Regions from separate parts of the Homo sapiens genome. Here all the other regions are linked to region 2. The links are contacts of gene promoters, found by promoter capture Hi-C in human tissues and cell types (Jung and others, 2019). All regions are on one chromosome and are shown on one strand. The core of a region is centred on a gene start or on the middle of the fragment in contact, and the rest is flanking DNA. Distances in the headings are between cores, read along the strand shown.

Evidence for each region. The method cuts DNA at HindIII sites, captures the fragments that hold promoters and counts their contacts. A contact is called where the count stands out against the background at its distance.
Region 1: a contact is called between a fragment that was not itself captured here and the fragment with the promoter of PSD2 in region 2, in 2 of the 25 tissues and cell types used here (dorsolateral prefrontal cortex and psoas muscle).
Region 3: a fragment that was not itself captured here is called in contact with the fragment with the promoter of PSD2 in region 2 in 3 of the 25 tissues and cell types used here (liver, mesendoderm cells and thymus).
Region 4: a contact is called between a fragment that was not itself captured here and the fragment with the promoter of PSD2 in region 2, in 4 of the 25 tissues and cell types used here (H1 embryonic stem cells, dorsolateral prefrontal cortex, heart left ventricle and 1 more).
Region 5: a contact is called between a fragment that was not itself captured here and the fragment with the promoter of PSD2 in region 2, in 4 of the 25 tissues and cell types used here (dorsolateral prefrontal cortex, heart left ventricle, mesendoderm cells and 1 more).
Region 6: a fragment that was not itself captured here is called in contact with the fragment with the promoter of PSD2 in region 2 in 3 of the 25 tissues and cell types used here (dorsolateral prefrontal cortex, mesenchymal stem cells and spleen).

The regions. Positions count from the first base shown.
Region 1 is chr5:139,563,021-139,567,815 of GRCh38, reverse strand. The region is part of intron 1 of UBE2D2 (ubiquitin conjugating enzyme E2 D2); the gene reads right to left. Among named protein-coding and RNA genes, the nearest start is that of UBE2D2, 4.1 kb to the right of the region's middle. RefSeq lists enhancers at 2,082-2,221, 2,412-2,511. The HindIII fragment of the contact is 5,297 bases long and covers 1-4,327 here.
Region 2 is chr5:139,793,957-139,798,733 of GRCh38, reverse strand. It overlaps PSD2 (pleckstrin and Sec7 domain containing 2), which reads right to left and starts at 2,926. Exons shown (of 15, transcript NM_032289.4): 1 at 2,759-2,926. RefSeq lists a silencer at 3,208-3,407. The HindIII fragment of the contact is 20,038 bases long and covers 1-4,777 here.
Region 3 is chr5:139,930,214-139,934,431 of GRCh38, reverse strand. The region is part of intron 1 of NRG2 (neuregulin 2); the gene reads left to right. Among named protein-coding and RNA genes, the nearest start is that of NRG2, 110 kb to the left of the region's middle. The HindIII fragment of the contact is 8,415 bases long and covers 1-4,218 here.
Region 4 is chr5:139,632,812-139,637,171 of GRCh38, reverse strand. No RefSeq gene overlaps it. Among named protein-coding and RNA genes, the nearest start is that of CXXC5, 13 kb to the left of the region's middle. RefSeq lists silencers at 1-208, 655-874, a cis regulatory region at 684-1,519 and an enhancer at 3,554-3,848. The HindIII fragment of the contact is 7,601 bases long and covers 1-4,360 here.
Region 5 is chr5:140,024,201-140,028,446 of GRCh38, reverse strand. The region is part of intron 1 of NRG2 (neuregulin 2); the gene reads left to right. Among named protein-coding and RNA genes, the nearest start is that of NRG2, 17 kb to the left of the region's middle. The HindIII fragment of the contact is 8,374 bases long and covers 1-4,246 here.
Region 6 is chr5:139,946,182-139,950,410 of GRCh38, reverse strand. All of the region lies in intron 1 of NRG2 (neuregulin 2), which reads left to right. Among named protein-coding and RNA genes, the nearest start is that of NRG2, 95 kb to the left of the region's middle. The HindIII fragment of the contact is 4,829 bases long and covers 1-4,229 here.

The DNA.
Region 1 (4,795 bases), core at 430-2,929, 230 kb after region 2:
ACGCCTGTAATCCCAGCACTTTGGGAGGTCGAGGCGGGTGGATCACTGGAGGTCAGGAGTTTGAGACCAGCTTGGCCAACATGGTGAAACCCCGTCTCTACTGAAAATACAAAAAGTAGCTGGGCATGGGGGTGCATGCCTGTAGTCCCAGCTACTCGGGAGACTGAGGCAGGAGAATGGCGTGAACCCAGGAGGCAGAGCTTGCAGTGAGCCGAGATTGTGCCACTGCACTCCAGCCTGGGCAACAGAGCGAGACTCTATCTCAAAAAAAAAAAAAAAAAAAAAACTTAGCAAATTGGCTGGGTGCAGTGGCTCATCCCTGTAATCCCAGCACTCTGGGAGGCCAAGGCGGGCAAATCACCTGAGGTCTCAAAAAAAAAAAGCAAGTTAATTAGAATTGTATTTAAAAACTACTTAAGGCCGGGCACGGTGTCTCATGCTTGTATTCCCAGCACTTTGGGAGGCCGAAGCAGGTGGATCACAAGGTCAGGAGTTCGAGACCAGCCTGGCCAATATGGTGAAACCCCGTCTCTACCAAAAATACAAAAATTAGCTGGGCGTGGTGGTGCGAGCTTGTAGTCTCAGCTGCTCGGGAGGCTGACGCAGGAGAATTGCTTGAACCTGGGAGGCGGAGGTTGCAGTGAGCCGAGATCATGCCACTGCACTCCAGCCTGGGCGACAGAGCAAGACTCCATCTCAAAAACAAACAAACAAGAAAACTTAATCTTACATAAAGCATTACTTTCAAACTTTTAAAAATACAGAAAGTATTGTTTAAATGACTTAATCTTTTTACACTCCTGATTACTTAATGAACCCCAATCCCTGGTTACTTTAATCCACATACTAAACTGATGTCGACCAAAAATGCGTATTTTGTTGTTCTTTTTTTTTTTAAGTTGAATCGGTTGCCAAAAAATCTGGATTTGTGGCTTCTCTTTTTTTTTTGAATGGAAGATATTGCAACACTGGGCCCACAGATTTTAGCAATAGCAACATTTGCAGGGAGCTGGTTAGCAGTTGCCCTCATCTGATAGCACATGCATTTTCTAGCTCCCTCAAGTTCTCTCTGCTCACTTTGGTACCTGCCTGGCTTTTATAGACATCAGAGTTTGAAATCTTTTTGTTTGTTTGTTTGTTTGAGACAGGGTCTCACTCTGTTGCATAGGCTGGAGTGTAGCGGCTTGATCACGGTTCACTGCAGCCTCTACCTCCCAGGCTCCCGAGATCCTCCCACCTCAGCCTCCCACCTAGCTGGGACTACAGCCATCCACCACCATACCCAGCTAATTTTTTGTATTTTTTGTAAAGACCATGTTTCGTCATGTTGCTCAGGCTGGTCTCGAACTCCTGAGCTCAAGCGATCTGCCCACCTGGGCCTCCCAAAGTGCTGGGATTACAGGCGTGACCCACTGTGCATGACCCACTGTGCATGACCTGAAATCTTTATTTCATTGAGAACTTTGTCTTGAGACGCCTTAAAAGAAGCTAGCCATAGGCCGGGCACAGTGGCTTACACCTGTAATCCCAACACTTTGGGAGGCCGAGACGGACGGATCTCCTGACGTCAGGAGTTCAAGACCAGCCTGGCCAACAGGGAGAAACCCTGTCTCTATTAAAAATACAAAAATTAGCTGGGCATGGTGGTGAGTGCCTGTAATCCCAGCTACTTGGGAGTCTGAGGCAAGAGAACTGCTTGACCCTGGGAGCCAGAGTTTGTAGTGAGCCAAGATCATGACACTGCACTCCAGCCTGAGCAAGACTGCCTCAAAAAAAAAAAAAAAGAAAGAAAAAAAATCTCTATCACAGAAATAGATCAAGTGATAATCCTGGCATTACTTTGTTTGAAAGCTATGTATGCCAAACGTTATCTGCAACTAGTAGGACACCATTAAAATGTACAATGCACTATTACTGTTAAGAAAAGCTTTTAGTATCCAACTCTGGTCAGTCTTCAACTCCTCAAAGAATCAAGATATTTATTTAGCCTTTTACCCTTCCCAAGAATAGAGAAATTAACCAAATACTTCAACATTACAGCACTCTAAGAGCACCAAAAAGCCTCCTACATCTGTATAGCAAAAGTAAAGAAGAAAAACAGGAAGCAAGTCAGAAAGGTCTCCGATCAGCCAAGGAAACCACACAGTTCACAGAGCACATGAAGCCCTCTTCAGTCAAGAGCCTACTGGATCTTATTTTAGACACAATTTTAATAAGCTCTGTGATCTGGTTTCTTAGCCCACAACAGATGAGATGCAGCCAACTGGAAAAGGGCTGGGGGTGGTGCTGCTAGAGGCAGGCACTCAAAGCATCAAAATCAAGGCTGAAGACCTAAAAAGTCAGCAGAAAACCTTAAAACATAGCAGGGTGGGGCCATGTGGTGTAGATACCAACAATCCCAAAGGATCCCAAGCCCTGCCCAGAACTACACACAATGTTCATAATGACCCTCTTTGCTATGCTCTGCTTATAGTATAGGTCAGGGGACCTTAAGATGTATATCAAAATAAAGTCCATCAAAAGCTTTTTCCAAAAAAGACATGGCATTTCAAAGACTGCCAAATTCACAGACATGAATAGCGTCCCTCTGTCAAAGAAACAAGATATTGAATTCCTGAAGATGTCACATGTCAAATGTAGTTTTTCTTAGAAAAATCTTATCAGAACCCAGATGTAGCAACTCATGACATTTAAGTCAAGAAGGTATTTAAGTAGAATTATTTTTTCAGGGAATGATAATTGGGAAGGTTCAAGATCAATTATAGAAGCCAAGCAATGGGGATTCCACTGCAGACACATTACTAGGACAGAAGATAAGATAGAACTGATCTTATCCATGCCTAGGAAGTCAGCTATTCAACTTAAAATTGTGGTACAAAGAGTTTGGAAAAAAAAAATTAATCTCCATTTTGTTTTCACAATCTTTTTGAGTGGTATACCAAAATAAACTTCATTTTTCTTATCACTAGCTGTCTCAGAGAAGTCAAGCCATACTTTGTGAAGAGCTCTAGGGAATAAACTAGGGGAAAATGGTTAATATTGAATTCTAAAAGTTCAGGCCAGGCCAGATGACGTGGCTCACATCTGCAATCCCAGCACTTTGGGAGGCCAAGGTGGCAGAACACTTGAGGTCAGGAGTTCAAGACCAGCCTGGCCAACATGGTGAAATCCCGTCTCTACTAAAAATACAAAAATTAGCTGGGCATGGCGGCGGAGTGCCTGTAATCCCAGCTACTCCGGAGGCTGAGGCAGGAGAATCGCTTGAACCCAGGAAGCGGAAGTTGCAGTGAGCCAGGATAGCACCACTGCACTCCAGCCTGGGCGACAGAGGGAGACTCCGTCTCCAAAAAAAAAAAAGTTCAGGCCGGGCACGGTAGCTCACGCCTATAATCCCAACACTTTGGGAGGCTGAGGCAGGTGGATCACCGGAGGTCAGGAACTAGAAATCAGCCTGGCCAACATGGTGAAACCCCGTTTCTACTAAAAACACAAAAATTAGACAGGTGTGGTGGTGCGTGCCTGTAATCCCAGCTACTCGGGAGGCTGAAGCAGAAAAATCACTTGAACCCAGGAGGTGGAGGTTGCGGTGAGCTGAGATCGTGCCATTGCATTCCAGCCTGGGCGACAAGACTGAAACTCTATCCCCCAAAAAAGTTCAAATTATTTCTAAACTTGATTTTATTAAAAAAATCTTACAAAGGCATATTTTAAGGAAAATCTATTCTAGAAAATATGTAGCAACTCATAAGAAACTATATTACCAGAGCAAGTATTATTAATTAAAACGTATGTTTTGTGTCAAAGAGATAGTTCCCTCTCTGAAAAAGTCCGTTACACATATAATTCAATGTAGAGATTAAAGTCTACATTTCTTTTTTTTTTGAAAGGGAGTCTCGCCTGTGGCCCAGGCTGGAGTGCAGTGGCGCGATCTCGGCTCACTGCAAGCTCCGCCTCCCCGGTTCACGTCATTCTCCTGCCTCAGCCTCCAGAGTAGCTGGGACTACAGGAACCCGCCACCAAGCCCGGCTAGTTTTTTTTGTATATTTTAGCAGAGACGGGGTTTCACCGTGTTAGCCAGGATGGCCTCGATCTCCTGATCTCGTGATCCACCCACCTCAGCCTCCCAAAGTGCTGGGATTACAGGCGTGAGCCACCGCGCCCGGCAGGTCTACATTTCTTTATCTGTAAATTATTACACATTATACCCACTTGCTCTTTCTCAGGTTATAAAATAAGAGGACAAGCTTCTACAGGTATTTGATAACTTCCCAGTTAGATTCTATAAGGACCTAGCAATTCCTAAAAGCCTTTAAAATACATATGTATATATTTTTTTTGGATGACTACTCCTCAGTGTGCTCCCCTGCCCCTTAAACGGTTCTTTAAGACATCTTTGCTTAAGGTTCAAGCTTCTTTATGGTATTTAACAAATACCATTTCATTTTAGTACAAGATTTATTGTCTAAAATCTGCCCTTCTTCATTTGTTAGAAATCAGAGTCAAAAGAAGTTAAGGAGCTAACCTAATTATAGTAACCAATGGGACTGATTCCACACTGTCTTTGAGCAAAAATGAAATGAGGACCAACCGCTGAGCTGAGGTGTTTAAATCATCAATCTGTATTCTGACTTAGTTTAAGACAAGCTAAAAACTGGTTCTCTTCCTCTTGCATCCCCATCCCATCATTCAGAATGGATAACCCCAGTACCTACTTCTAAGTAGCTACAGGTATAGGCCGTGTGCAGTGGCTGATTGATGCCTGTAATTCCAACACTTAAGGGAGGCAGAGACAGGA
Region 2 (4,777 bases), core at 1,677-4,176:
TGAAGTATTTAGAGGTGAAGTGTTATAATGTTGGCAACTTACTTTCAAAAGATTGAGAGAGAGAGAGAAAGAGAGAGAGAGAGAAACAAATGTGGCAAAATGTTAACAACTGGCAAATCTAGGTCTCTAGGTGAAGGGTATGTAGGTGGGTGTTCACTATACTATCAGCTTTGACAAGATAAAAAGTAAGGTGGGAGAAGGAAGGGAGTGGAGGGAGACGTTCCAAAGAGGGGAGCTCAGGGGTTGGAATTTTGGGGCAGGAGTCAGAGGAGAGGACATTCCTTCCCCAGGGCAGTCCACAAACCTGAGCATGCAGAGCTGTGGGCCAGCCCACAGGCCAGCCCAGGCCAGGCAGGCACAGCGCTGGAGTGGCTTACCACCTGAAAAGGGGGCCAGACCCTGAGGAAACGGACTCACCTGTGGGCAAGCCGGCTTAGAGGGACAAGGAAAACAAGCTGGTCCCAGGGAGACCAGGGCAGGAACATGGGCCCCTCCCCCTCCATTGAGCTGTGGCAAGGAGCCAGGTCTGGCCCCAAGCCCACCCAACTCCCCCAAACACCCCTCAAGGGGCGACAGCCTAAGTGTATCCTCCTGTTTGGAGAGCCAGTCTAAATACGGAGCCTCAGACATAAGATGCCGCTCAAAACAGATTTTCCTGGAAAAGACCATCTGGCAAAGGAGGTCTAGAGCATCGTCTGTTGTGAGAGGCAGTGTTGATCTCCTGCAAGCCAACGTCCGGAATGGGAATGCCTTGATCCCACCTCCCTAGGAAACTACAGCTTAGTGCTTGTTTTTCCCAAGGTCACCCTCTTGCCCAGATGGAGAGACACTCTATCCCACCTCCCACCTCTCTCCTAAATTGTGTCTCCAGGGAAGAAGAGGAGAGGATGGGGACACAGGTCTGAGTATCAGACAGTTCTGGCCAAGTGCAAATCCTCACTCTGCCACTTACTAACCAGGAGACTTTGAACAAACAGCTCTACCACAAAATGGGAATAAGGGTAGTGCCTCCCTCTAAAGACTGTTATGAGGGTACTTAGCACATATGCTCCATATGTGGAAGCTAGGTGAGGTAATACCCCCCAGCCACACTCTCTCTCTCAGTCCTGTCTAGAGCAGGAAGTCATTCCTTCCAGCTATCTTTGCTCTCTCCCTTCAGGGAAGACCCTGGGAGGCACTATTTGTCAGGTCTGCTTGTGGAGCGTGCACCCCATAGTTGTCAGACCAGGACAAGCTGCAGCGGGGAGGCCTCTGGGGGCATCCCTGGGCTGCAGGGTGCAATTCACCCAAGCATTGAGACTTCAACCTTGCAAGAGGCACCAGTGAGGGAGGCCTTCCAAGGACAACCCAGTCATCCTCCTTTAGCTGGGCCACACCCACCTACTCACCCCACTGCGTGGGAATCTTTTGGGGGCTCTGGCCAAACCCTAGGGACCTGCTATGTTTCCACCAGGACCAAACTTTGCAGTAGCCCCACTCAAAAGCCCCTGTTCCCTGCTTCCCGCATATATTGGGGAAAGGGGCTGCTGGGAGGACAGCAGGCACATTTTACTGATTCGGAGATCCCAGGCCCCAGAACTTGTAGCTTCCCTGGGAGACAGGTTCCTAAAGTCCTGGGGAGAGGGTGGAAGAATGAAAGAACGACTGCAACTGCCCTGGGCCACGGGTTGGGTTTGGAGGCAGTCCCAGCCCAGTGAACCCCCCCACCCCCAACCACTATTAAGCAGCTCTTGTTTGTAGGATCTAGAAAAAGGAACTGGGGAACCCAGGAAAGTCCAAACCCAGGCTGCCCACCTGCCCTGGCCAAATCCTGAGCCCTCTCGCTGATCCCCATCAAATTCAGCCTGGCTTATCCCCAGGCTGCCAGGAGTCTTAGGCCCTCTTCCATTGTGACTGCTGCTTCTGCTCCCTGTTCTCTTCCTGGCCCCCCCAAGATGGCCCCAAGACAAAGGGGTGGGCTTGAGACAGTGGCCCCCTGGGCCTATGCAAAAACAATGCCCCCAGTGATCATTCCGGGGAGTCCCTGCATCCTCTAGGAACAGCTGAATACCTCCTCCTCCGAGGGGGCCCGCTGGGCAGGGTTGTCCCCAGTCTGGACTCCCTCTGCACCCAGCCCCAGCAGCCCGCTCCTGGGACCCCTCCCTCCCGCTGCCGCCTCGGCCATTATGTGCCTCCTCAGCCCTGACTGCCACGCCCCCGTGCGAGCCCCCGCTCTAGCTGCAGAGCCGGGGAGGCCTGGCCGCCAAGCAGGGCTGTCAAAGTTGGGAAACTGGAAACAGAAATAAATCCTCAAAGCTGCAGCCTCGTGAAGGTGGCTGCCGGCAGGCCCCGGTACCCAATGCCCCGATCCCCGACCACCAGGCTGCCACTGGCACCCCCCACGCACACGCGTACCCCCAGATTATACAAAAGCGGGGAGAGGGTAGTGGGTGGCGGAGCCGGGAGACAATCGGCCCGGCAGCCCCCACCGTCCCTCAGGCTGGGCTCGGGCTTTCCCGCGGCGCCCCCTCTCCCCGGCCCAGACCCGGCCAGCCCGGGCTTCCTCTCTCGGCCCCATCTCCATGACAACCGTATCCTTCGGATGCTCCAGACGCCGCGGAATTGATCTGGAAATGTAGCTTTGTTAGCGGACCCGGGTGGGCACCGAGGGCGAGGGCGACGCCCCCCACCCGCACGCGGCCCTCTCCCCGGCCCGTCCCGCCCCGGCCTGGCCGCCAGCGGGGAGGGGCGGGTCCCGGAGCCCCGCGGCCCCACTCACCGCTGCTGGTCCCCGCCGCGGGTCCGGCCTCTCACGGCGGGGCCATCGGAGGCCGCCGGGCTGCCTGTCCCGCCCCGCCGCCGCCGGTCGGAGCTGCCCGCGCCCGCCCGCGTCCCTTCAGGTGCCGGAGCCGCGATGTGGAGAGGCTGAGCGAGGGGGACGGACGGCAGGAGGGAGGGAGCGGAGCCGTGAGCTGGAGGAGGAGGAGGAGGGAGGAGCGGGAAGGGCGGGGAAGGGCGGGGGCACTGCGGGCGCGCGAGCGGCGGGCGCGGAGCCCGGAGGGAAGCGCGGCCCCCAGCCCTGTCCGCTTGCAGCGCAGCGCTCGCCCCGGGACCCCGAGCGTGCCGGGGAGAGCGCGGCCCACCTTGTCCCCCTCTGCCCCGCGCGGGCCCTTTAAGAAAGGGGGGGAGGGGAGCGCCCGGGGTTCTGCCCCCTCCTAGCCACGCTGGGCCCCTGCCGTCCTCGAACCCTCGGGCAGACCCAACCACCTCCGCCCTCCAGGCAGGACCCACCGGTCTAGAACCTGAGCTCTCGGGACCCGCCAGGCCCTGGAGGTGAAGGAGGGGGCGGGTCCTGGCCCTCCTCCCGCGGTCTGTTCAGGGAGTGACCCCTGCCCCCAGCCCCCCGACACACACGCCAGCCCCCGGGAGACGCCGCCAAGGGAGGAGCAGGGAGTGCGGGGGGCCAAGGTGAAGAATCTCAGAGAGGGAGACTGAGCCCCTGAGACCTAGAGTCACACGGGACGGGACGGAGACCTGGGCTGTGGGGTGAGAAGGAGCCTCGGGACAGAGTGGGATGGGAGGAGGCAGGAGAGAGGAGAAAGAGACAAAGGAGAAAGAACCTGAGGGAGGCGGGAGGTGAGGGGTGGGTCCAACCAAGAATCCACATCCCTGTGCCAGGTCAAGGGGAAGCCTCCCTGGGCAGATATAAGGAGACAGAGAGAGACAGAGGGTGCCCTGGGCAGAGGAAACCATCTCCCAAGGCACCTGTCCCACGGTGTCTCCCCAAGGGCAAGTCAAGGCCCTGAAGCCGCCCCCCTCAGCCCAGGACTCTAACTGAAGAAGAGGGTTGACTGGCTGTACCTGGGCTAGACATTAAGAACTTCCTGGCTGTGAGGCACCTGCAGAGTAAGAGTCCGCCTCTCAGAGAGGCATTAAAGGGCCCCCACCCACAGGGATCTAAGGAGGGCGTGGGGAGCAGGCCCAGTGCCTGGGAGAAGGGAAATCAGGATAGAGTCAGGCCCTGCCACTGGAGGCCACTTTCTACCCCTCTCCCCTACTCCAGCCCCTGGGGGGTTCACCACACCCAGTTGCTTCCATCTCCAGACCTCAGCAGATGATCCACACTCTGCCCGGTGGGGCCTTGATCCTGCTGTGCTCAGTGAACTCCTACTGAACCCTCAAATTCCTCCTTAAATGCCCCTTCCTTCATGAAGTCTTCTCTGACCTTCTTTCCACCCATGAACACACAAACATGGACTCTTCTTAGGGAGCAGGAAGAGGATTTGCTGACCTCTTAGGGTGGCAGTAATTGGAGGTGTGGAATCTGAGCTGTGCGTAGTCTCCCTCCCTTCAAGCTGGGCAACAGCAGGAGCTGGGACTTCATCAACCATGGTGACACCTCTGACAACCAAGCATCTACCAAGTGCTCTTCATGTGTCATATTTAATTCTCAAAACAATCCTACAACCCGTTTTACAGATGAGAAAACTGAGACTTGGAGAGCATAAGTCACTTGCTCATGATCCCAGGAGATCTGAATCTGTGAGCACAGCTGGTCAATTAAGAGGGCACTCAGACCACATCCTTCACTGCCCATCAAACCCTAGGACATTACCGCAGAGCCCAGAAACAAGGGAGCCACTCTCTGTGCAGGTGCCCAGGATCTTAAAGGGCACAGAGGGAGCTTGGCTTCCCTGCTGTCCTGCATTCTACCCCCCTGCCCTCTGCTACCTGTAGGCAGAGAAGGGTGGCGACCAGCAGGGGCTGTGGAGGGAAGTGCTCATGGCAGGGCTTAGAT
Region 3 (4,218 bases), core at 1,688-4,187, 140 kb before region 2:
TTCAAGTAACATGGTACCATTTTATGTATAGTATAAAAACTCTACAACCATATACTTCCATTTCCCATTGCTTAGTCTTTTCGCTATTGTTGTCATACATTTTACTTCTGTATGTTATAAACTCCACAATACATTGTTATTTTTGCCTTAAATCATTATCTTTTAAAGAGATTTTAAACATAAGAAAAAATATATTTGAGGATTTTCTAAATGTTTTCTTTTAATTATTTTATTTTATTGAGACAGAGTCTCACTCCCAGCCTGGAGTGCAGTGGCACAATCACAGCTCACTGCAGCCTGAACCTCCCGGACTCAAGCAATCCTCCCACCTCAGCCTCCCTAGTAGCTGGGACCACAGGCATGTGCCACCATGCCCAGCTAATTTTTGTACTTTTTGAAGAGACGAGGTTTCTCCATGTTTTCCAGGCTGATCTCAAACTCCTGAGCTCAAGCAATTGGCCCACCTTGGCCTCACAAAGTGCTGGGATTACAGGCGTGAGCCACCACACCCAGTCTCTCTTAATTCATTTTTAACTTTAATTTTGTCATGGTCAAAAAACGTATCTCTTAAAATCTACTGAGATTTGCTTTTACGGCCAAGCATATTATTAATCTTGCTAAACGTTCTATGTGTTCTTGAATATGCATTTTGCATTTTGGGGGTATAATTTGCTATAAATGTAAATTAGGTAAGGTAGTTAATAGTTCACTCATTTCTTTCATATCCTTATTGAGATTTTGTCTAACTAACCTATCAATTACTCATAGAAAAGTATTAAGATTTCCAGCTTTGATTGTGGGTTTTTCTATTTTTTCCTTAGTTCTGTCACTTTTTGCTTCATATAATTTGAAGATCTCTTTTTAGAGGCATATATATTTTAAACTGTTCTGTATCTCTCATGAATTGACTCTTCTATTATTAAATTTCTTTGATTCTAGTATATTCCTTTTCTTGAAGCCTATTTTGTCTTGTATTAAGAGAGCTATTCCAGTTTCCTTACCTTTAAGGTTTGTGTAATTTCCAGCCTTCTGCTTTTAGTTTTTACTTTTGTTATTTGCATGGTTTTACAGTATTTTACTTCTAGTCTATTTGTATCTTAGTATTTAAAGTGTCCCTTTTGAGGAAAGCACATAATTTGTTCTTGCTTTTTTTTTTTGAGACGGAGTCTCACTCTGTCAGCCAGGCTGGAGTGCAATGGTATGATCTCAGCTCACTGCAACCTCCACCTCCTGGATTCAAGCCATTCTCCTGCCTCAGCCTCCTAAATAGCTGGGATTACAGGCAGGTGCCACCATGCTCGGCTATTTTTTGTATTTTTAGTAGAGACAGGGTTTCACCATGTTGGCCAGGCTGGTCTCAAACTCCTGACCTCAAGTGATCCGCCCACCTTGGCCTCCCAAAGTGCTGGGCTTACAGGCGTGAGCCACCGCGTGCGGCCTGTTCTCACTTTTTAATATAGTCTGTCAATCTCTGCCTTTTAATTGGAGTCAGACCACTTACATTTAATATAATTATTAATATGATTTTTTAAAATTTTTAAATAAATACTAGTTTATTTGAGCCTTTTTCATTTATGGTTTAACCATCCAATATGTCTGTTTACTTCAGTTCTTTTTCTTCTTGACACTTCTAGGAGATTTCTTTCTCTATTCTCTTTCTCTTTCCTCTTTCCTGAATAAATTTTATTGTGTATACTTGAGATTTTACAACATGCTATTATGGGATACATATAGATAGTAAAATACTTACTATAATAAAGTAGATTAGCATATCTGTTATTTCACAGTATTTTTTGTGTGATAAGGACAGATAAAATCTACTTAATGAACCAAAATCCCAAATACAATTCTATTAACTGTAGTTCTCATGTTGTACCTTAGGCCTCTAGATCTGTTCATCCTACATATCTGCTATTTTTATCCTTTGACCTCCATCTCCCAATTTCCTACCTTGCCACTCTCATGGTAACTAATGCTTCATTCTCTGTCTCATGTATTTGAGCTTTTTTTAAAAAAAAAAATCTACTAATAAGTGAGATCATGCAATATTTTTCTTTCTGTGTCTGGCTTATTTCCCTTAGCATAACATCTTCCTGTCCTCCTGGTCCATCATGATGTGGCAAATGGCAGAATTTCCTTTTTAAAGCCTGAAAAATAGTTCACTGTGTATACACACACACACACACACACACACACACACACACACACACTACATTTTCTTTATCCATTCATCCATCTATGGGCATTTAGATTGTTTCCATATCTTGGCTAATGTGACTAATGCTTCCATGAACATGGGAGTGCAGATCTTTATGAAGTGGTGATTTTGTCTTCTTTGGGGATATACCGAAAAGGGGGATTTCTGGGTCATATGGTAGTTCTATTTTAAATTATTTTAGGAATCTCCATATTGTTTTCCATAATGGCCGTACCAATCTACATTTCCACTAGCTTTGTACAATGGTTCCCTTCATTCCATACCCTTGTCAACATTTGTTATTTCTTGTCTTTTTGATAATAGCTGTCCATACAAATGTGAAGTGATAGCTCGTTGTGGTTTTAATTTGCATTTCCCTGGTAGTTCATTAAATAAGCCAGTTTCTTTTCATTTGTCTTCAAGTTAACTGATTATTTCTTCTGCCATCTTAAATCCTCAGTTGAGCCCATCTAGTGATTTTTTAATTTTACATTTAATTTGTACACCTTAGCTCTGTAATCCATTTTAAAATGTGTTTCCATTTCCTTGTTGAGATTCCCTACTTGTTTGTTTCTTGATGGCATATTTTCCTATAATTATTTGAACATATTTATAATAAATCCTTTGAATTCTTTATCTTCTAAATCCAATATCTGGATCCAGTTGGAGTTCCTTCAAAATTAACTTGGTTGTACTTGGCCTTTGGGCTTCACTCTTTAACCTTGGCCCCAGCATTTTCCTTGTAGCCTCGGACCAGGGGAAGGGCCTCCTTTCTGTTTCATCTCTTCCTACCCTACTCTCAGGAACCTACTGTCATCCCACCTGCTCTATGTTGACTTCCCTGATGATTGGGACCCTCAGAGATCTTGTTACTCTCTGAACTACTATGTTTAAATTTATATCCCATAATCCAGTGCTGGACCATGTCCTGTTGTTTGCTAATGTTTATGTACTTTGTATTCCTAACTAGATTATAAACTCTTTCAGGATTGGGAATATGTCTTTTCCTCTAGAATATCAGTACATTGAGTTCCCTCTGTATGACAGGTCTTGGCCTGAGCACTTTATACTACCTTTCATTTAGTCTTCAGAACACCCTTGTATGATAGGTATCATTATCCTCATTTTCCATATGAGGAAACTAAGACCCAGAAAGGTTAAATGATGAAGCCAAAGTTAGTGCCAAAGTTAGTGAGAGAGAATGACTAGGCGAGCATTCAAACTCAGATCTATCTCACTCAAAGCTCATGTGGCCATGGCTTTTTATTCTAGTTGGACTTGTAACCTCTTATTCTTTCTGGCCACTAGTCTGACTGTTACCGTGTGAAACAGACCCAGATAAATCTGTGGATTCTTTGAATGGGGTCTGGTGGCCCAATGTTCCCTGCACAGCGTCTTGTTACTTCAGACAGCATCCCATGGCCTGCCTGTCTGCTTTAGCCCTGGCTGTGCTCTTCATCAGGATCCACCCATGGGCTGCTGCACTCAGAACCCCTGCTTGGTAGCCCAAAATAGCCTTTGTTTTCTCCTGGTGGCTGGTGGATTTTCCTCAGCCATTTTTGCCAAGTGGAGCCATGAGTTGGAATAGCAACAGGTGGTAAGTATCTAGAAGCCAATGAGGCATGCACTTTATTGTCAGAAGCAGAAGTGTGTTCTGCAGAGATGGAAAGCAGACCTCCTACCAGCAGAGGAAACACAAACCAAAGGGAACCTTCCCGAAAGTTTGAACAGAACTCTGTTCCTTTTCTGTCTCTGAGGCGTGGAGGAGTGTGGTCCTCTTTGTTGAATCCTTTTCCAAGCATACCTTACACCTGCCTAAAACAGGTAAAATGTAAATCATCTCTTTGCAGGGATTCTTTAGGATACATCTTGTTTTCCGTGCCTTATAGACATGATCATCTCCTTGCTGCTTAGCCAAGTCCTTTGGTTTACTCCAGCATCTGCAGACTGGAAGAGAAGACTTCTCTTTTAACTCACTCACCTTCTTGCCCCAGGGAAAGTAGGAAACAGCACATTTGTTG
Region 4 (4,360 bases), core at 1,046-3,545, 160 kb after region 2:
ACCATACCACAACAGATGTCCCTACACTAGACACCTACAATATCACCGGGACACAAAATGAGTCATATAGTAGCTGGTCTCAACCACACAGCAGTAGGGAGTTACATACTTTGGGTGCACAACAGTCACACAACAAAGCAAAAAAGTCATATAGTCATATCATCCATCACCACTACCTCAAAGAACATTGTCAAATTAGGTCTCTACGTTGTACAACACAATGGTGCCCATACTGGCAAAAGGATGGGACCAGGAGCCCAAGTATAGAATATGACAGGGGCAAATGCTGCCATAAGTTGCACCCCAGTAACTAAGAGAGGGATAAAGCTGTTTTGCATCTTCCAACTTGAATAAAATTATACCCCACCCAACATGGCACAATAAACAAACACCAGGCAAACCAGCATGAACTTGCAGGGTTCTGACAGGACTAAATGAGCCACTGCAGGTGAGGTGCTTAGCACAGCACCAGGCACATGGTAAGCACTCGACACACAGGTGGTCTTGGTCATTGCTAATGGTTCTATACTACTAAGTCATGTGTATATAATAATGACTGTAACTACTTAGCATCATTCTCTCCATGTTAGTCCAGTCCCTTCCAGGAACCTGATTCACCCCAGCAGCAAAACTAGTTCTGCCATCACATACACCTGGGAAACACAACTCAAGTGTTACAAACACAATTCACGGTGCTGCACTCACCCACAGAGAGGCCACATTCTCACTTCCCCCAGTATACAACCACACCCACCCCAGAATCCCCTCCACAGGGGGAGCAGGCTGTGCTCATGCAGCTGAAAGCTCTGGCTCAGAGACCTTGGTGGGGAAACCACCCCTAATCTCTCACCAGGTGCAACCCAACTAGTGTGCACTGCTACTGGCCCCATTTCCTGCCACTCTCAGAAAGCTGTAGAACACAAAGCACTTCCCTCCTAAAGGTCACCCACCTAGTTACAAAGGGACCCAGAGCCTCCCAAATAAACTCCTTAAGGACTATCCCTTGTCAGTCCCCCTTTCCATTTCTCCATTTCCCCCTAGAGAAGCTGAAGCACCAGTTTCAGTCCCCAGAAAGGCTCTCCCCATTCCAAATCCAAAGCAGGAAACAGGGCTGGCCCCAGAGCTCAGCAATCTCCCCACTCCCATTCCCAGTGGTGCATGTGTGTGGGAACAGGGCCAAGATTCATCAGTCCTTCAGCACACCCTTAAAGGCCACTCCTGTGGTTCCAGTGCAAGGCCAGCTGGGCTGTAGCCCTCACTTCCTCAGTTCAGGCCTGGGCCCACCCAAGGGCTTCCAGGAAATCTCTTGTAGCCAGGGAGCTCCCCCTAAAGGTCCTGTCTAGAATGACTCCCCACATTCCCTAGTTTTGCCTGGCTGTGTGACCTTTGTTAATTCCCCAACCTCTCTGTGCCCAGATCCCAAGTCCTGCCCACAGATCCAAGACACCCTTCAACCCCCTCACAGAGGCTCTCTTTGACTAGGGAGAGAGGTGTGGGCCTGTGACCTAGAATGTGGAGAGGAAAGATGCTGGCTGTAGGTGCCACAATCACCCAGTCATTTATCCCTCTCCCTTCCCCTTCAAACAGAGCTGGGAAACAGCTGGGGGAGATCTGGCCTCCTTCCACAGCATACCCCTCCTCCGTGGCTGGAGGCAAATCCTCCCCCAACCCCAGGCTTTTATTCACCAGGCAGGACAACTGGATTCCCTTTTGTCCCCCAAGGTAAGGGGAAGGACAGACAGACACTGGGCAAGGACACACAGTCTGGCTAGCCATGGCCATTATTCTGCCTGCTCACCCTGTTTGTGGGCACACTCTTGCAGGCCTTAACAAGTGGGCATGTGAGCCATAGGCTGCAAAAGGGCCCAGCCAGTCTTCCCCAGGTCCCTGGATGTCCCAGGAGCTAGCCCAGCTCAAAGGAGGGCAAACCTCTAGCATGTACAGGAATCCAAGAAAGATGTCTCACTGTCCAGGCCTACCTCCCTGAACCATAAGCACCCACGGTCACAACCCTTTAATTTGATAAGGTCATTTTCCACCAAGCATTGCCTATGGGTCAGGCTGGTGACCAAGTGCCCGTTTTCTAGATGAGAAAATCAAAGCAAAAGACAGATAAGTTTATTGCCCAACTGAAAACCCATGGTCTTGTGATTCAAACCCAGATCTGATCCTGTTCTTCAAAGGCTACAGAGCCTTCGTGTTTATGCATCACACCCTGATGCATAAACACTAAGGAGTGTACATGCTCACAATTCTCACTCTCAAGCTCCTGAACACATGTGCAGTCCCCTTCTGCACACACACATACAGGCTGGCCTAAGCTCTCCCATGCCTGGGGCCTGTCAGCCACATTCTCCATGGCTCCCTCCTTCTAACAGGGACAGGGACAGGCAGGGAATCTAAATTCCCGGGTTTCCGCCCTGACCCTGACCCCACTCCTTTCCCACTCAGAGAACACATACCTCCTGCTACAGCCAGAAAACCAGCCCCAGAGGGAGGCCTGGGGGAGAATAAGCAATTCTGGGGGCCAACTGCCTAAGCTCCAGTTATTTGCCTGGGTTTGACATAATAGGAAGTCAGCAGCTTTCCCTGCAGGTAGCTCCCACCCTCTAGCGAGGCTAGACCCAAGGCTTCCCTCCTTATTCCAGAAACTTTCTTAGTTGAGATTCCTTTGGATCCAGCAAAATCCCTCACATGATTAGGCACTACAGCAGGACTCGTGGAGCTCTCAATACACCGTTCTCCTTAGAGTCTATCAGTAGGCAAAAGCTTAGGTTCTAGGTACCAACAGCACCCAGGCAGCTTTCCCCATCTAGGGGCAGTGGTAGCTAATTCTCACAGCCCTGCCTGGGGCTCCCAAATAAACTCCTTGACCTGGGAATTTAGATTCCCTGCCTGCCCCTGTCCCTGTTAGAAGGAGGGAGCCATGGAGAATGTGGCTGACAGGCCCCAGGCATGGGGGGCTCAGCCACTTGGTGGGCTCAGCAAATCTGGAACATTTGCATATCCAGATGGCCAAGCCTTGAATTTCAAAGATTTCCCCATGAAGAGGCAGCTGGCTTCCGGGTGGTGGCCCTGGACGCTCACACCTGTTGGGCTGGAAGACTGAGGAGACCAGGGCCCCAAAATACAAGATAAACTTGAAACAGACAAGAACATTTCCCAGGCCCTATCACTAGCCCCCAACTCTGCTCCTTCTGTCCCCAGGCCTCCATCTTCAAGGTCTAAGGAGCCATGTGCTGGTTGCCCAGGGTAGGTGGGCAGGCAAGTGATAATGGACTGCTGCCTCTGTGACCTGCTAGAAATATGGGATCTCCTTGTTCACATGCAGCAATAGACAGATCTTTTCCTGCATGTAACCTGGAGCTAGGTGGGCAGAGGTCCTAACCTGGAGCCTGGTTCACCTATTCACACACAGAGACATGGCTGCCATAGCAACGGGGAGGGCAGAGGGGAGCTGGCAGCTTGACACTTCCAGTAGGCTTTGGGCTGAAATACAAGTCACTAACCTTTTCCTTCACTGTAAGGCTGAGAACCTGACTGAACTTGGCACTGGCCCATCTGATTCTGGATATACCACGCACAAAGCTTAAGTCCGAAAGAATCTCCCCACTCCAACAAAAGCCCCTCTCAGGTTGTGCCCATGCAGATTCACTGACCACACGCCTCACGGTTGTCACAGCTATGGGTCACCACTGCCCTCTGCTGGCCACTCAAGGCACTAGCATCCACTCAGACACCAAAGCCATCATCTCACTCCCCACATAAGCAAACACACTTCAGTCATCACCTCCATCTGTGGGCACTGAAATGCAACTCCATTCAGCCGTCCTCTGAGCCAGGGGGCTGACAGGAGACAGGAAGAACAGGGACCACCTCAGGGACACAATGTATTAAGGAAGAAATCACAAAGGAATTCTGCTCCCTCCAATATACATCTGAAACTTCAAAAGGAAGTGCCCCCCGCCCTTTTTTTTTTTTTTTGAGTCAGAGTTTCTCTCTTGTTGCCCAGGCTGGATGCAATGGCGCGATCTCGGATCTCGGTTCACTGCAACCTCCACATCCCCGGTTCAAGAGATTTTCCTGCCTCAGCCTCCCAAGTATCTGGGATTACAGGCATGCACCACCACGCCTGGCTAATTTTGTATTTTTAGTAGAGACGGGGTTTCTCCATGTTGCTCAGGCTGGTCTTGAACTCCTGACCTCAGGTGATCCACCTACCTCGGCCTCCCAAAGTGCTGGGATTACAGGCGTGAGCCACCACGCCTGGCTGGAACTGCCTTTTTATGAAGCTTGGAGGTTGAATCCAGGAAACAGTACCTGCCCTATAACTTGTTATGCACCAGAGCCTCCCCAACTT
Region 5 (4,246 bases), core at 1,747-4,246, 230 kb before region 2:
CCACACCAAATACAACACTGGGATAGATTTGGGATAACTACTACAGATGCCTGTTTTAAAAAATTGGTAACACTTACATTTTAAAATGACTATTTTTATTTTTTTCTTCAGATTTTGAAATAATTTCAGACTTATTATAATACAAGAAAGTTGCAAAAATAGTACAGAGTTCCTAAATACTCTTTGCCTAGCTTCCTCAAATGACACAACACGTAAAATGATTAAAACCAGGACATTAATAGTACGGATGCAATACTATTAGCTAATCTATAGACCTTATTGAAATTTTGCCAGTTGTCTTACTAATGGCCTTTTCCTGGTCCAGGACCCAATCTAGAATCCTACATCACATTTAGTTGTCATGTCTCTTTAATTTTCTATCTACAGTAGATGATTCCATTTAGAAAGGAGGGCAACATTAGTCGCTAGTCCCTAGCAGTTTTGAAATCCAGCCTGGCATGTGAGTAGGGCTCAGTCCTATTGCCTGGGAATGATTCTTCACTGTTTGTTGTTCTACCCTGTGGCTCCTGGTTCTGTCCTCTGAATTACTCTTTTTTTCCCATAACATGTAGCCTGTGTTTGCAGCTAAGCAGTTTTCTCAGCCTGCTTCCTACTTGTAGATGTCCCTTTTCATCCAAGCTGGTGATGTTCCTGCTAGTATAGTAGTCCCCCCAATCCATGCGGGATATGTTCCACCCCCAGTGGATGTGCGAAACCACAGATAGTACTAGGCCTTATATGTACTATGTTTTTCCTACACATACATACATATGATAAAGTTTAATTTATAAATTAGGCACAGTAAGAGATTAACAACACATAATAATAACAGAACAATTATAACAATATATACTGTAATAAAAGTTATGTGAATGTGGTCTCTCTCTCAAAATATCCTATTGTATTAAACCGTGGAAAGTGAAACCATAGATAAGGGGGGACTACTATATACTTCTTTTAAAAAGTGTATGGTTTTTCCGGTGAATCCTATTGGGGTTTACTGCCTTAGACAAAAGCCACGCCCACGAATCTTCTTAACATAAGCTCTTCTCTACTTTGAGTTCCCTCTGAAGCTGCAGTGGGATAATGCTCTTTAAGATTTGTAGAATTCCTATTATTTAATAGAAAGGATCTGTGGGGCACATTCTTAAGATCTATGGAGAGGCCTGGTGCAGTGGCTCATGCCTGTAGTCCCAGTACTTTGGGAGGCCAGGGCAGGTGGATTGCTTGAACCCAGGAGTTTGAGACCAGCTTGGGCAACATATGGAGACCTCATCTCTACAATTTTTTTTTTTGAAATTAGCCAGGCATAGTGGAGCATGCCTGTGGTCTCAGCTACTCTAGAGGCTGAGGCAGGAGGCTCACTTGAGTCTGGGAGGTTGAGGCTGCAGTGAGCTGTGATTGCACCACTGCACTCTAGCCTGGGGGACAGAGTGAAACCCTGTCTCAAAAACAAAAACAAAAAAGACCCACGGAAGGACTTTTGTTTGTCTCAAACATTCTTCGAGGCATTGCCTTTGATCTTTCCGGGGTCTTAACAAAAGATATAATTCAAAAATTCTCAAACTGAGCTCAATATCTTCTTGCCATACCCTGTTATGTTTAGGACACTCCTATCCTAAATAACAGCATTTATCTAGTCTTCCAAGCTGTTAGAAATGTCAAAATCATCTTTGACTCTTTTTTCACTCTTATCCTCTGTATAGAGGACATTGACGAGTCATGACAGTTTTTACTACTGCAAAGTCTCCCCAATCCAATTCTTTTCATTCATGATGCTCTAGTTGGAACTTTTATTTTCTTTCTTTCTTTTCTTTTCTTTTCTTTTTTTTCTGGAGAAGAGATCTTACTGTGTTGCCTAGGCTGGAGTACGGTGGCTGTTCACAGGTGTGATAATAGCATACTACAGCTTGGACCTCGTGGGCTTGAGCAATCCTCCCACCTCAGCCTCCCAAGTAGCTGGGCCTGCAGTCATGTGCCACTGTGCCTGGCTTCTAGTTGGATACTTACATCTCACCTAGCCTGCCTTAGCGGCTGTAAATGGAATTCCCTAGTTTCAGACTCTCTGTTCTCTTCTATTATCTATTGCTAGAATTCACTTTCTAAAACAGAGTAATTATCTCTTCCCAACCCCAAAATCTTCAATAGCTTCCTATTTCCTGTGGCATAAAGAGCAACTTCTTCACAGGGCATGCAAGACCTTCCACAATTTGGCCCCTACCTATCTGTGATCCTTCAGTCCACTCTTTCACACTTACTCTTTGCCATAGCTAAAATGATCTACTTGACAATTTCAAACAAATTTTACATTTGTATCCTTTAGTGCTTTTGCTCATTCTGTTTCCTTGGCTTAGTATGCCTTTCCATTTCCTCTTCTCAGTCAGTTTCTTGCCTCCTCTTCCTTCTGGGCTTAGCTGAGATTCCACTTCTCCTCAAAGCTTTTTCTGATCCCCTCAGTCGGAATGAATCATGGCCTCCTGTGTTTCTGTAGCAGTTCATTGCTCTTCTGTAAACATAAAGGCCTAGTCTATCACTTGGCATAGTCGGATGGGGGAGGAGGGCAAGTGTGTGTGCGGTCCTCCAGACTGTGAGCTTCCTGAGTGCAAGATGGAGCTGCAGCAAAAGATGTATCTTCTTTATCTTTTTGTGCCTTATGTAAGTTAACCAGCAACTGCTGGGTGACTTGAAGAGAATGACCTTAGGATTTTATCTTGGAATTAAAACTGGCCATTGGGAATAAGCATCTGGCTCATGGAAGGAAACTGACCTTAGGTATGTATATATTGGTAGAAATATGAAGGCAGTAAATTGAGACAGTTACTTTAGAAAAAAAGCCAAATCTCTGATATGTGGATTTGAGTCTGTGCTTTATTAGCTTCTATGGGAAGCACCTTGAAAAGATTATTCAAGATTGGAGAATATGGCTGTTTTTTATACTACTGTATCTCGATCAACTTCATGGTACTTGGTGCGTAATAGGCGCTCAATAAACATTAACTGAGGGAAAAATGAGTGAAGAAACAGTTTCTTCTGTGTGACTCTGCAGTGTACCTACATGTGCCATGCCCAAGGAACATAGCCTGGAAAGCTGGTTCAGAATCGAGGCTTATTTATCATAAGTGATTTATCCAGGGCCCTCTTGATACTTAGAGCCTTCTGCTGTGTTACAGAGATGGCAGGTATGTGCACAGCATGACTGTTGAAAAGGAATGGCAGAATTGCAGTCTGAATCCAGCAAGCAGAAGTGACAGCAGCTGCTTTTAGGTGGCCCAGAGGAGTGTTGGGCTATGTGTGTTTAGTTGAGGAAGAGGGTACTAATCAGGCCTTGTCAGGGGTTTTTTTCGTTTTGAAATAATGAAAGTCCTTCCTGGAAATCAGCCTCCCTGGGTTCAGCCTCAGTCCACTGCTTTCTGTATGGCCTTGAGCAGGTTGTACTTACATTCTGGGCTTTTGTTTTCAGCAAATTGTAGTCTCTTCTTCAGCTGTGAGAGCTTGTGAAGAGAGTGTTTGAGCCTGTTAGGTAAGTGGCATAAAAATAGCCTCAAAATATAGAGACTGCATGGGTTTAGAGTTTTTCTTAGAAAAGTTTAGCAAAATCCTGGGTTGAGAGACAATCTAGATGTCTCAAATGTTGAATTCCTTTCTTGAAGCTGGACTTCCCCTGTATTTCCTTCTGAGTCTCAAACCCGAGCCGCTTCCATAAGTCTGTGATTGTGATAATTGGATGGGAGGGGTTAGGGCAATTTAGGAAGATAATGGGGGACTGACCTCCTCCTGCCTTTGAAATCCACAAAGGAGGGAGCGTGGGGAAATGATGAAGAGTTGATCAAAAAATGAGGATCGTCCCTCCCAAATTAGGACAACTGGCTTGGTGATAAAATCACTTTACTCTGGCCGGGGGCGGTGGCTCACGCCTGTAATCCCAGCACTCTGGGAGGCCGAGGCGGGCGGATCACGAGGTCAGGAGATCGAGACCATCCTGGCTAACACAGTGAAACCCCGTCTCTACTAAAAATTACAAAAACTTAGCCGGGTCTAGTGGCGGGCGCCTGTAGTCCCAGCTACTCTGGAGGCTGAGGCAGGAGAATGACGTGAACCCGGGAGGCGGAGCTTGTAGTGAGCTGAGATCGCGCCACTGCACTCCAGCCTGGGCGACAAAGCGAGACTCCGTCTCAAAAAAAAAAAAAAAATTGTTTTACTCTGTTAGTAACCCTCAGGACCAGATACTATGAAAACAAAAATAAAA
Region 6 (4,229 bases), core at 638-3,137, 150 kb before region 2:
ACTTTGAAAGAAGCTAAATGTTCTACAGAAGGTGTATCATACTCCTGGGTGTGAGGGAACTACTGGAATTTCCAGCACTGTATGCCAGCTCCCAAGGGACAGGCAAACCCTCCAGCTCTCCCCTGAAGTAGGTTGAGATGGTACCGCCAATCATGGAGGGGGCCAGCATTAATCGTCTGTGTCCCTGGCATTGGGAGTTTGGTCTGTGGTGTGTGGCTCACTCTAGCTGACCTTCTGAGGAACGAAGAAGAAATGTTGAAACAGAGCTTGGTTCAAAGGCTGCTCTACCCAAGGGAGCCTACAATTCTCTTTCTACTAATGATCCTTTGAAATAATCCTTTTAATCAGGTTTCCCCCTAGGAAGAGTCTGGGGCACTGCTCTTAACAAATTTTCCCTTGTGTCTTTGTCACACACATGCCATTCCCAGCAGCCTTTTGCTATTTAGACAGAGGAAGGAGCCATGCAAAGAATGTAGCAGTACTAGTTGCCCTTTGGGAGGCCTCTTCCCATGACCAGGCCCCCTGCCAAGCTTTGAGGGTGTCTATTACTTCCCTTTTCTCATGCTCCAAAACCAAGGTGAGCAGGACTTGTCTAGGGGCAGCTGGTAAATATGAACACCTAGCCATGGCCAGACACCCAGCAAAGCCTTCTTTAGAAGTAACCATTTATGTGTGAACCTTAGAAACGTGACTTTTGAAGACTAAAGGAAAGTTCTCTGCACCAAATAGCAGTTATGCTGGGGTCATTCCTTAGAGTAAGATATTCTTCTTAAGTAAAATATAAGTTCCTTAGCTAAAATAGAATAGAAGCCTAGAAGGAAAAAAATATATATGTACAGAAGTCTGACAAGACGTACATCAAAATGTTTCTAATTATTATCTTCAGGTAGTGGGTGTTCTAGTGACTTTTATGCCTTACTTGTACTTATTGAGAATTACTTTTGAAATAAGAAAAAAAAAAGTATTAGTTAAAAATTCCCTTAAAGGAAGGTCACACTCCATTACTCATCTGTTCTTCAGTAAAAATTAGTTCTGGGTCTTTTCCTAAGAGCAGGATTTGCTAGAGAGAGGGAGATCATCTCTGAATCCTTAACCCTAAAATAGTGATATCATAGTTTGTACATAGCATGACCATTATATGTCTGTGGAATAATGTATTGATTGATTTTTTAAGGGCTGTTGGAGTGGTGGAAATGATGAAAATTTGAGAGAGGAAAGATGGGGGCTCCTCAAACCTCCTTAATATGCAGCTTCTTTCTCCCTTAAAGGGAGAGAGGAAACAGGAGATTATTTTTATAGTGGTCAAATTAGTCTTATCAGTTTCATTCCTCACTGAAGTGTCTACACTACAGATTTTTGGAGAAGCCTATTGGTAGGGAATTGAAGCCTCAGGGTCACTGAGAATCCTAGAAGCCTCAGGGTCACCGAGACTCAGAGGCTTTGTTAATTGAACATGGCTGCCTGTGGCTGCGGAGCTTGCCTATGCCGAGGGAATCTTGACTCTAGCCTCTGTCTTACCCTCATGTCCAATCTGAAATCAAGTCCTATACATTGTACCTCCTAAACACTTCTCAGATTCTACCAGTTCTCTTCATCCTCACTACCACTACCCTTGTCTCACCCAGAACTCCTGCAACAACCTGCTAACTGGGCTAACTCCAGTCACTTCTATTTTGTGTGCTGCAGTCAGAATAAATATTTTAATATATGGATATTATCTTATGATTATACTGCTTAAAACCATTCAACAACTTCCCATAGCACTCAAGATAAAGTCCAGACCTCCTGGTATTCAGTTTTGCAATGAGGATTAGATACAACATTGCAGATGCTCAGTAAATGGGAGCTGTTATTGGCAGCAGTGGCCAGGATATTGACTGGGCTAGTAGTTGAGATGCAGCTAGGATGGCGGTCAGGAGAAGGGCTGAGTGATGGGCTGGAATGGTGGCAGTGATAATCAAAGTGATGGTAACAATTATATGTGAAGCGGACCTCTGTGTGGGAGAAAGAGTGGCTCAGGTTAGGTCTCTCGGGAAGTCCAGAGCTGAACTTCTTTCCCACCACTAGAAAGGTTGGTATGTGGGAGCCAAGAGGTTGGATATGACCAGATGTCAAGTGCAATGAGACTGGTTCCGTTCTGACTACGAAGAGTATTCGTCTCAGGAAAGAAGCCTTCTGCCTCTTTTGGTATAGTTCATTGACATTATGCTAAATGAAATTATCTAGTCACAAAAAGACAAATGCCACATTAATTCTATTGATATGAGGTGCCTAGAGTAGTCAGATTCATAGAGACAGAAAGTAGAATGGTGGCTGCCAGGGGTTGGGTGGGGGAGGAGAAAATAGGGAGTAATTGTTTATGCATACAGTTTCCTTTTCAAAGATGAAAAAAGCTCTGGAGATGGAGAATGGTGATGGTTGCACAACAATGTTCATGTACTTGGTTCCACTGATACACTTTAAAGTGGTTAGAATGGTAAATTTTACATTATGTGCATTTTACCACAATAAAAAGAATTGGAAAGAACTGGTAAAGGATCTAAACAGGCACTTCTCCAGAGGAGCTATACAAATGGCCAATAAGCATGTGAAAGTATGTTCAACATCATTAGTCATTAGGGAAATGCAAATCAGAACCACAATGATATACCACTTCACACCTATTAGGATAGCCAGACTAAAAAAGATGCATAATAATAAATGTTGGCAAGGATGTGGAGAAATGGGAACCCTCATACACTACTAATAGGAATATAAGATGGTGCATGCAGTTGGTTTGGAAAAGTCTGGTGAACCAGCAGTGCACTCCCAGGTGTACATATACCCAAGAGAAATGAAAACGTATGTCTTTACAAAAACTTGTACACAAATGTTCACAGAAGCATTATTCGTAATAAACAAAAAGTAGAAACCACCTAAATGGCCATCAACTGTTGGTTGGATTAATAAAATGTGGTATATCCACAATAGAATATTATTTGGCAACAGAAAGGAAAAAAGTACTGAAACATGCTACAATGTGGATGAACTTTGAAAACTTTATTCTAAGTGAAAGAAGCCAGTCACAAATGACCAAACATTGTATAATTTGATTTATATGAAATGTCCAGAATAGGCAGATCTTTAGATACAGAAGGCTGATTAGCAGTTTCTTCAAACTGGGGAGTTGTAGGAGGCCAAAGAGTATGGGTTTACTTCTCAGGTTGATAAAATGTTCTAAAATTGATTGTAGTCATGGTTGTACCACTCTTTGAATATATTTAAAAATCATTGAATTGCACACTTTAAATGTGTGAATTGTATGGTATGCGAACATACCTCAATAAAACTGTTTTGCCAGCAATGCACAAGCGTTCAAATTTCTCCACATCCTCACCAACGCTTGTTATCTTCTGTTTTTTTTTTTAATAGTAGCCATCCTAATAGGTGTGAGGTGGTATCTCACTATAGTCTTGACTTGTGTTTCCCTAACGATTAGTGATGTTAAGCATCTTTTCATATGCTTGTTGACCATTTGTATATATTCTTTGGAGAAATATGTATTCATACCCTTTGAATAGACATTTCTCCAAAGAAGAAATTAAAGACATTTCTCCAAAGAAAAAATTAAACCCATTTTTAACCAGATTGTTTTATTGTTGTTGAGTTGTAAGCATTCTGTATATATTATAGATATAAGTTCCTTATCAGATGTATGATTTACAGATACTTCCTACAATTCAGTGGGTTGTCGTTTCACTTTCTTAATGATGTCCTTTGAAATACAGAAGTTTCTAATTTTGAGGAAGTCCAATTTATCTATTTTTTCTTTTCTTGTTCATACTTTAAGTGTCATATCCAACAAATCACTGCCCAATCCAGTGTCACAAAGAAATACATCTATGTTTTTTGAGAATTTTATAGTTTGAGCTCTTCCATTTAGGTCTTTGATCCATTTTGAGTTAGTTTTTGTATACAGTGTGAGGTAGGTATCCAACTTCACTATTTTGCTGTGGATATCTAGTTGTCTCAGAACAATTTGTTAGAAAAAACTAACAATTTGTAATTCTTTCCTGATTACATTACTTTTATATCCTTGTTGAAAACCAATTAACCATAAGTGTGAGAGTTTATTTCCGGATTCTCAATTTTATTCTATTGATCTGTTTCTGTCCTTATTCTGATACCGCACTGTCTTAATTTATTGTGGCTTATAGTAAGTTTTGAAAGTGGGAAGTGTGAGTCTTGCA